2 separate regions of the Homo sapiens genome follow, and region 2 is linked to region 1. Evidence: promoter capture Hi-C in 16 types of primary human blood cells and fetal thymus (Javierre and others, 2016). All regions are on one chromosome and are shown on one strand. The core of a region is centred on a gene start or on the middle of the fragment in contact, and the rest is flanking DNA. Distances in the headings are between cores, read along the strand shown.

What was found. The method cuts DNA at HindIII sites, captures the fragments that hold promoters and counts their contacts. A CHiCAGO score of 5 or more calls a contact.
Region 2: a contact is called between a fragment that was not itself captured here and the fragment with the promoter of TAF1C in region 1, in 2 of 17 cell types (total CD8 T cells and naive CD8 T cells). The highest score is 5.3, in total CD8 T cells.

Annotation. Positions count from the first base shown.
Region 1 is chr16:84,184,600-84,189,575 of GRCh38, forward strand. It overlaps TAF1C (TATA-box binding protein associated factor, RNA polymerase I subunit C), which reads right to left and starts at 2,458. Exons shown (of 15, transcript NM_001243156.2): 1 at 2,302-2,458; 2 at 252-461. The coding sequence starts at 389. RefSeq lists an enhancer at 2,298-2,798 and a silencer at 2,444-2,653. The HindIII fragment of the contact is 17,434 bases long and covers 1-2,806 here.
Region 2 is chr16:84,098,987-84,103,962 of GRCh38, forward strand. It overlaps MBTPS1 (membrane bound transcription factor peptidase, site 1), which reads right to left. Exons shown (of 23, transcript NM_003791.4): 2 at 2,635-3,121; 3 at 67-324. The coding sequence starts at 2,797. Among named protein-coding and RNA genes, the nearest start is that of MBTPS1, 15 kb to the right of the region's middle. The HindIII fragment of the contact is 207 bases long and covers 2,583-2,789 here.

The DNA of each region.
Region 1 (4,976 bases), core at 1,208-3,707:
AAGGGAGGGGTCAACCGACTGATTCAGGCAGCATTCTCACGGTCTCATAAGGGACCCGGCATAGTGGGGGCATCCGTCTAGGGATGGCAGGGTAGCCCATGTACCCCAGAGGAGGTGGCAGAGCCTGTGTCTCAGCAGACTCGTGTGAATGCCACCACTCTGTGGCCTTGTCAACTGATGTGAATGTGAGACGGGGGACCCAGGGAAGGGATGTCCCTGGAGCTGCCAGGGCCCCCTGCCTGCATCCTCACCTCTGAGTTCTGGGGCTGGGCCTCTGGCAGAGTCAGTGCGTCTCGCCAGCTGCACATGAAAGAGAGGTCAGGGACGTCGCTCAGACCAAGGGGGCCGGTCAGAAACAATGCAGGGCGGAGGGAGCTGGGGAAGTCCATCCTGGAAACAAGGACCAAGCACCACACTGGCCACCTCGAGAGACTGGAAGCTGGTAAGGGGCGCCAGAGTTCCTGAGGAGTGAAAAGTGCACTACGGGAAGCATATGTTCTTTGAGGAAGCAGATAACAAAAAACAAATATGTAGCCCAAGGCCAAGCAGTAGTGAGAACTGTATTAAAGCCAACCACCCGTCCAGGAGAAGGGGATCTGGTAGTGGGCTGAGGGCGTGGTTTCAGCAAAGCCAGCCAGGAAAAGCCTCGTTGAGAAGGTGGCGTTTGAGCACAGCCTGAACCTAGTGAAGGAGAGAACCATGTACGCAACTGGGAAGAGGGTTCCAGGCCGAACGGTCAACAACTGTGAAAATCCTAGAGCAGTGAAGTGTGTGAGAAAATGAGGCAGCCAGAGTGAGCGAGGTGGAGAGCGGTGGAGATGGAGTCAGAAAGACGGCAAGGGGCAGCCTCTCTCCCGGCTCGTAAGTACCGTCATCATACATTTACAGACTACACCCCCAAGACGCTCAAGTTACTCCACAGCCAGGGACTGCATCTGAGCATCGTCTTCCTACTGTCAAGCACAGTGCCTCCCAGAAAATGCACTAGGGGTTGAAAAAAATAAATTTCTATCACAAGGGGCCGGGCGCGGTGGCTCACGCCGGTAATCCTAGTACTTTGGGAGGCCGAGGCAGGCGGATCACCTGAGGTCGGGAGTTCGAGACTGGCCTGACCAATGTGGAGAAACCCGGTCTCTACTAAAAATACAAAATTAGCCGGGCGTGGTGACGCATGCCTGTAATCCCAGCTACTCGGGAGGCTGAGGCAGGAGAATTCCTTGAAGCCGGGAGGCGGAGGTTGCGGTGAGCTGAGATCGCGCCATTGCACTGTAGCCTGGGCAACAAGAGCGAAACTCCATCTCAAGAAAAAAAAAAATTACATCACAAGGCTTTGGTAAATACAGTCCTCTAGAAGTATGAGCAGCCATAGCATCCCTCCTTTTTAATTAACAAAAATAACAGGGGCAAAAATAACAGCAGCGCTCGCTGACCAAGCGCCAGCATCTATCTGCCAGGCACATGCTAAATGCTGCACTCTTCTATCGCCGTCCCTGTTAACAGAGTTCAGGAAACGAAGGCTCAGCAAGAACTTTAGTCCAACAGCTCTTAGCTGCCACAGCCAAGACTTGATTCCCATCCGATTCAGAGGCAGAGCTCCGAACCAGTGCTCTCGCATGCACCGAAATGCAAACGCTAGCATTAGAGTCTCGCTATACAAAAATCTTTTCCCTTTGGCCGGGTGCGGTGGCTCCCGCCTGCAATCCCAGCACTTTGGGAGGCCAAGGCGGGCGGATCACCTGAGGCCAGAAGTTTGAGACCAGTCCGGCCAATACAGTGAAACCCTGTCAATACTAAAAATACAAAAATTAGCCGGGCGTGGTGGTGTACACCTGTAATCGCAACTACCGAGGAGGCTGGGCACGAAAATCGCTTGAATCTGGGAGGCAGAGGTTGCAGTGAGCCAAGATCATGCCACAGCACTCCAGCCTGGGTGACAGAGCAAGGTTCTATCTCAAAAATAAAATAGAAACAAAAATATTTTCTCTTGGAACCGCATAGCCTGAAACGATCCTAGACAGGCGGAGGGCGCTGGTGGAGAGCACGACCCCACAAAAGCCCTCAGACAAGGCAGCCTCGACTTCCCCGGCCGGCTTCCCGCCCTCGCTGCGGGCTCTCCAGGACCCTTTAGACCTCCAAGGCTACAGAACTCAGTCGGATCCGCAATAACGACAGGCCGGGGACTGCGAAACGTGAGCCTGCCGCGGGGACTGGGGATTGGGGGCGTCCCTCCCCTCCTACATCTGCGGGTCCGCTCCTCGAACACGCGCAGTCCGCGCGGAGGGGGCGCATGCGTGCACTTACGTGACCCCGGCCTCGTCGTGGTCGTCTGGAAAATGGGCCTCGGCGTGATGCTCGCCGGACCCTGGCACCACGAGGGAAATCTCAAGTAGAACCCCAGCTTTGGCACTCGGGACGGGTCAGCCCCGCCGCAGCTACCCACGGTCTTCCGGTTTGGACCGGAAGTGCCTCCTGCGGAGGCAGGAAGTCCCGCCTCCCAGCCAGGCCTCTTAGGGTCCTGGCGCGCCCCCTCCCGGGAGGAGAGGGAACGGGCGTGCAGGCGGCGCGTGGGCAGCGGAAATAAAGCTCCCTTGAGTCCCAATAGTGGAGGCCGGGTGGACTTAGGTTCGAATCCCACATCTACTTCACCAATTTCCTCAGAGTTGTATTAAATTAATCATTTAACGAACTCCCACAGAACACCTACTATAAGCCAGACCTGTATTGGTCAGTAGGTATCCTACTGATTGTCCTTAAATCCCAAGAAGCGGGCTTTACAAATAAGGGTACAAATACCTACTAAGAGTGAAGCTTTTCCAGGGGTGGTCAGGCAGGGAGAGCTTTAGGCAGTGGTCTTCAAACTCTAGCTAGCGTGCGTCAGCAGTAGCACCTGGGGGGCTAGTTAAAACACAGTCTCCAATTCGGTGAGTCTGGGGTGGGACCTGATGATTTGCCTAAGTTCCCAGGTGATGCTGAAACTGCTTATCTGGGGGCCATGCTTTAAGAACCACTGTCCAGTCATGAACCTTACCGTTATCCTAACATAGTACTTCTCAAACTTCAGTGAGCCTTAGAACCACCTGGGGGGCTTGTTACAAGTTTGCTAGGCTCCACCCTACCTCTGCCCCCCGAGTTGCTGATTCAGTAGATCTGGGATGTGGCCCAAGAGTCTGCATTTCTAGCAAGTTCCCAGATGATGCTGGTCCAGGGGCCATACTTTGAGAACCGTTGCTTTAAAGAATCAATTTCCAAATTCTCAGCTGTCATCTATGTCTTTATTTATTTTTTTGAGATGGAGGCTAGAGTGCAGTGGCACGATCTTGGCACACTGCAACCTCCGCCTCTTGGGTTCAAGCAATTCTTCTGCCTCAGCCTCCCGAGTAGCTGGGATTACAGGCCTGCGCCACCATGCCCGGCTAATTTTTGTATTTTTAGTAGAGACGGGGTTTCACCATGTTGGTCAGGCTGAGTCTTGAACTCCTGACCTCAAGTGATCCGCCTGCCTAGGCCTCCCAAATTGCTGGGATTACAGGATGAGCCACCACGCCTGGCCTATATTGTTTTTATCTGGAAGTTTTTACCTGGACTAAAAGTGCCAGCAGGGCTGTGTTCCTTTTGAGAGGCTCTAAGGAAGAGTCCACTATCTTGTCTTTTCTGGCTTCTGGAAGCTGCCTGCATTCCTTGGCTCATGACCCCTTTCCATCTTCAAAGCCAGCAATGCCAGTCGGATTCTTCTCATGAGGCCATCTCTCTGGTTTTTACTCTTCTGTCTCCCTCTTTCCCATGTAAGGACCCATGTGATTATAGTAGGCCCGCCCAGGTAATCCAGGATAATCTCCCTATTTTATTTGTTTTATTTATTTTTTTGAGACAGGGTCTCACTCTGTCGCCCAGGCTAGGGTGCAGTGGTACCATCATGGCTCATTGCAGCCTCAACTTCCCAGGCTGAGATGATTCTCCCACCTCAGTCTCTCGAGTAGCTGGGATTACATGCAAGCACCACCATGCCTGGCTAATTTTCTTTTTTTTTTTTTATTTTGAGACAGAGTTTCACTCTGTCACCCAGGCTGGAGTGCAGTGGCGTGATCTTGGCTCACTACAACCTCCACCTTCCAGGTTCAAACGATTTTCCTGCCTCAGCCTCCCGAGTAGCTGAGACTACAGGTGCCTGCCACCACACCCAGCTAATTTTTGTATTTGTAGTAGGGACGGGGTTTCACCATATTGGCCAGGCTGGTCTTGAACTCCTGACCATGTGATCCACCCGCCTTGGCCTCCCAAAGTGCTGGGATTACAGGCATGAGCCACCACGCCCGGCCTAATTTTTGTAGTTTTTGTAGAGATGGGATTTCATCATGTTGCCCAAGTTGGTCTCTAACTCCTGGGCTCAAGCTACCTTCCCACCTGGGCCTCCCAAAGTGCTGGGGTTACAGGTGAGAGCCCTATTTTAAAGGCAGCTGATTAGCAACCTTACTTCCACCTGCAACCTTAATGCCCCCTTGCCAAATAATATACTCATAGGTTCTGGGGATTAGGCTGTAGACATCTTTGGGGGAACCATTATTTTGCCTACCACACTAATATTCTACATTACCCTTGTAAAACGCCTATCCAGCTTTGGCACTGCGAGGCCAGTTCCATTTCTTCCTTTCCTCCTTTCTCTGAATAAGCCATTATCAATTTGCTTTTGTAACTGACATATACTCAACATGCAGTAAAGCACACGAGTCTTAAATGTACAGCTCATTGAATTTTTATTCATACATAGAAACCCACATGAACACCACCCAGATCAAGACAGAGAACATTTCTATCACTCAAGAAAGTTCCAGCCAGGCACAGTGGCTCATGCCTATAATTCCAGCACTTTGGGAGGCCGAGGTGGGAGGGTTGCTTGAGTCCAGGAGTTCAAGACCAGACTGGTCAACAGAGCAAAACCCCCATCTCTACAAAATTTTTTTCTAAAAAGAAAATTCCCT
Region 2 (4,976 bases), core at 1,436-3,935, 85 kb before region 1:
ACTCTGCAGTTTGAGATTTTCAAAGTAAACAGCAGAGAGAAATTTGCCTACAGTCACAATACTCACATTCAGCATACTTGAGGGAACGAAAGACTTTTCGTTGGGGCGTGACCCGTTTGATGTTTGGATGATCTTCAAGTGTTAGCAGCCCCGCTTTCTGTTTTTCTTTTATCTGAATCACCTCAAAATCACTAGGGTAGTCACTGGATGGATTGTTTCGAGGTATAATTCTCCAATTGTCTACTTCACTGCTCTTCAGGGCACTTGAAATAAATGAATTTCTAGCTTTGGCTGTAAAGTATCCATTGAAAGCCACAATATATTCTGAAACCAATCACCACAAACAAAAATAAGATTTACGCACATACATTATAACATATACTATATTGTATCTAATCTAAAATCTGGCAAAAGAAAAATTATCTTAAAGCCCACAGCAGACGAGAGAAAACACAAAGACTAGTTTAAGTACCTAGACAGCTGTCTGCAGAGCTTTGAGGAAAAATGATCTATATGGGGCTGGGCGCGGTGGCTCACGCCTGTAATCCCAGCACTTTGGGAGGCTGACGTGGGCAGATTACGAGGTGAGGAGTTTGAGACCAGCCTGGCCAACATAGTGAAACCCCATCTCTACTAAAAATACAAAAAATTAGCTGGGTGTGGTGGTGGGCGCCTATAATCCTGGGAGGCTAAGGCAGGAGAATCACTTGAACCTGGGAGGCGGAGATTGCAGTAAGCAGAGATTGCACCACTGCACTCCTGCCTGGTGACAGAGCAAGCCTCCGTCTCAAAAAAAAAAAAAAAAAGATCTCTATGAATCACCTAACCACAAAGAATACATCATTCGAAACCAGATACCCGTGATATTTTTTTAAAAAGCAAATACCTACAGAAGTTTGAATACACAACAAAGAAATGTATATAATTTTTATCAAGTAGGAAAAAGAAATTCAGAGAACTGAATGCTCAGTTAGTGTTTCTTAAAACGAAAACAGTAACAAAATTCCAGAGTGGATTATGTGAGACTATTTGCTCAGTTCTTCACATCTGGTCACTCAAACTTTAGAACATAAACATTCTGCACCTCCCAGCTCCCCACCTTCACCAATTACAATGGCACCTGTTCCAAAGAATCAAGGTGTAGGCTGGGCACAGTGGCTCATGCCTATAATCCCAGCATTCTGGGAGGTCGAAGTGGATGGATTGCTTGAGCTCAGGAGTTTAAGACCAGCCTGGGCAACATGGTGAAACAAAAAATAAAAAAATTAGCTGGGCAGGCCGGGCACAGTGGCTCATGCCTGTAATCCCAACACTTTGGGAGGCCAATGCAGGAGGATCACCTGAGGTCAAGAGTGCAAGACCAGCCTGACCAACATGGAGAAACGCAGTCTCTACTAAAAAGACAAAATTAGCCGGGCATGGTGGCACATGCCTGTAATCCCAGCTACTCGGGAGGCTGAGGCAGGAGAATCGCTTGAACCTGGGAGGTGGAGGTTGCGGTGAGCTGAGATGGTGCCATTGCACTCCAGCCTGGGCAACAAGAGTGAATCTCCATCTCAAAAAAGAAAAAAGAAAAAACAAAAATAAAAAAATTAGCTGGGCACGGTGGCAGGTGCCTGTAGTCCCAGCTACTCAGGAGGCTGAAGTGGGAGACCACTTGTGCCTGGGAGGCCAAGGCTGCAATGAGCTGAGATGGCACCACTGCACTCCAGCCTGGGCGACAAGAGCAAAACTCTGTCTCCAAAAGAAAAAGAAAAGAAGGTGTAGGTAAATAATTCATGTCAATTTCCTTTTATCATATAAGCTTACTCTACTGGGAAAACAAACTTAAGCAAAGTTAACATTCATGTGCTGTGCACTCAACCCATTGGAAATTTACTACAGAAGGCCAGGCACGGTGGCTCATGCCTGTAATCCCAGCACTTTGGGAGGCCAAGGAGGGTGATCACTTGAGGTCAGGAGTTCAAGACCAGCCTGGCTAACATGCTGAAACCCCGTCTCTACTAAAAATACAAAAAAAAAAAAAAAAAAAGGCCTGGCACGATAGTTCATGCCTGTAGTCCCAACACTCTGGGAGGCCAAGGCAGGCGGATCACGAGGTCAGGAGCTCGAGACCAGCCTGGCCAATGTGGTGAAACCCCATCTCTACTAAAAATAGAAAAAATTAACTGGGAGTTGTGGCGGGTGCCTGTAGTCCCAGCTGCTCAGGAGGCTGAGGCAGGAGAACTGCTTGAACCTGGGAGGTGGAAGTTGCAGTGAACCGAGATCGTGCCATTGCACTCCAGCCTCAGCAACAGAGTGAGACTCCATCTCAAAAACAAAACAAAACAAAACAGAACAAATCAAAACAAAAAATTAGCCAGGGACGGTGGCAGTCACCTATAATCCCAGCTACTTGGGAGGCTGAGGCATGAGAATTGCTTGAATCCAGGAGGTGGAGGTTACAGTGAGCCGAGATCATGCCACTGCACTCCAGCCTGGGTGACAGAGTGAGACTCTGTCTCAAAAAAAAAAAAAAGAAAGAAATTTACTGTAGAAAAGAGGAACATGTTATTCAGCAATAGCTAATTTTATATTAAGTAAGCTTTAAAAAAATAGGATGGGAGTTCCTAATACTTAAGACAACATCATTACCATATTCCACAACTGTTGATGAGAATTCCACCTTCAAAGTCAGGTGGGAACAGCCAGGGCATGGGGCCTTTTCAAAAGATTTCTTTTCCAGTCTGTCGCCCAGATGTTTCTTCCCACAGAGCAAAACCACGAGCAGAAGCAGCCAGATGTTGACAAGCTTCATGGTCACAAGCGAATATGATCATAAAATTGCATATATTCAAATCACACTTTTTTCTTCTTGATTAAAAGTGAATTTTTGTTTCAGCTAAAAGCTGCAACATTACTAATCAGCCATCTTACAGTCTTGCCCAACATAAATAAAAGTTAAATCCCATGGCCTTTTGTGGTTCAGCCTGAAGAGAGGCTTTCATTTCTTTCTCCGCTTCTTCTCCATCTTGGAAATAAGGCTTCTCTCACTCAGGCCGTGACGACTGAGTCCTGTACTCCATTTGTACCACAGAACCAACGTCCAATGGGGTTGATCAATCAACCACTGTGAGCCAATCTATGAAACAAAAAACAGTGCACACAGACATTAGTAGCAAACTGACATAGCCAGGTATGATTTAGTTGTATTTATAATTTAAGCAAGTGGGTCAGCCAGGCAAGGTGGCAGGTGCCTGTAGATCAGCTGCTTGGGAGGCTGAGGTGGGAAGATCACTTGAGCCCAGGAGTCTGAGTCCAGCCTGAGCAACAAAGTGAGACCCTATGTCTAAAATAATAAAATAATAAAATAAATAAGAGGGTAAAAGAGATATCCTGGTTTTAAGACAAATTAATGTGCCATACAACCATGAAACATATTATTTCATTTTTATTTACTTATTACTCACTGCTTTCACGGGAAAATTTTTTTTAGGCATCTTCAAAAATAAAACAATAAAATCAATGAGAAAAATGGAAAAAAGTAAGGACAACAAAATAACACCAAAAATATTAAGCACACTGGACCTGAGCATTCTAGCAGCCAAAGAGAAGAAGGCATCAGGATGATCCTTTGTTCTGTTTCAGATTCTGTATTTCCTATCATTTGCAACTCAATCCCCAGAGCATTTCCCCAGTTGGCACTTTTACTTCCCACAAATTTCATCAATTTTTCAGGCAAAAGCTTGGTATAAAGCCTTACTTTCTGCTGTAACATTAATACCTAACAGCAAAGTAATTTCCCTATCAGTGATATTTAACACCTTCTTTAAGAAACACTATGCTTTAATATTACATAGTTTGAAATATTTTCTACCAATTCTATGAAAAGAGCATAAAAGGGTTTACTGTCCTGAAATTTATTTTACCTGAAACCTCACACTTAAAGAAATGTAACCTGCTAAATGTGTTATAAAACCAGATTATCTCTTTACTGGAGTGACATGAGAAGACAGTTTGTGAGGGAAACTACTGCTAAAGAAAAATGTCACCTGAATATTAAATTAAGCATGCGCACAGATATCTTCCAAAACATCTGAATTGTAAGAAAAACTGCCATTCTTCACAATGAAAACAGAGCGATAGTAAAGAACAATGCTGGCTGTAGCATAACCAGAAAAACAGTTGCACAGACCATACCCGGGGCGTAAATAATCCAGCAGGGTAGGGGATGGGTAAATGAAGCAAGAGAGGCCTTCCAGTGCTACTTAGGATTTTATTATTATTATTATTTTTTTTTTTTTTTTGAGGAAGGGTCTCACTCTGACACCCAGGCTGGAGTGGGTGGCGCAATCTCTGCACAGTTCACTGCAGCCTCAACTTCCTGGGCTCAAGCAATCCTCCAGCCTCAGCCTCCCGAGTAGCTGGGACTATAGGCATGCATCACCACACCCAGCTAATTTTTGGATTTTAATATAGAGAAGCAGTCTCGGCATTTTGTCCAGGCTGGTCTCAAACTCAGGTGATCCAGCCACCTTGGCCTCCCAAAGTGTTGAGATTACAGACAAGAGCCGCCATGTCCGCCCACTACTTGTTTTTAAAAAGAAAACATTAAGGACAAGGAGTTAAGTCATCTATTACAAAAGGTACTTCAAGCTGTAAAACTCATTCTTCTGGCAGAAACTGGTGCTTCTGAGTTTTTGGTTTCTGGAAATATCAATATGTGCTTCTACGAGTAGAAAAACATTGATAAAGTACCGTGAGGGGTTAAAATATCCAAAAAACGTTTTTACTTTTACTAAAGAGGGACTTTCACTGCTGTACTAACAACTGATCCTGAAAAACAAGCCCATCTCTGGCACTGGCACTGGCAACTAAGGGGCGTGGAACTCATCAGAAATGAGTCAAAGTTTAAAGCAGTTACATCCACCTCGACAAGAACAACAATAACAATGCCAACTGCAAGAGCAAAAACAAAGAGCCAAACAGAAAGATCA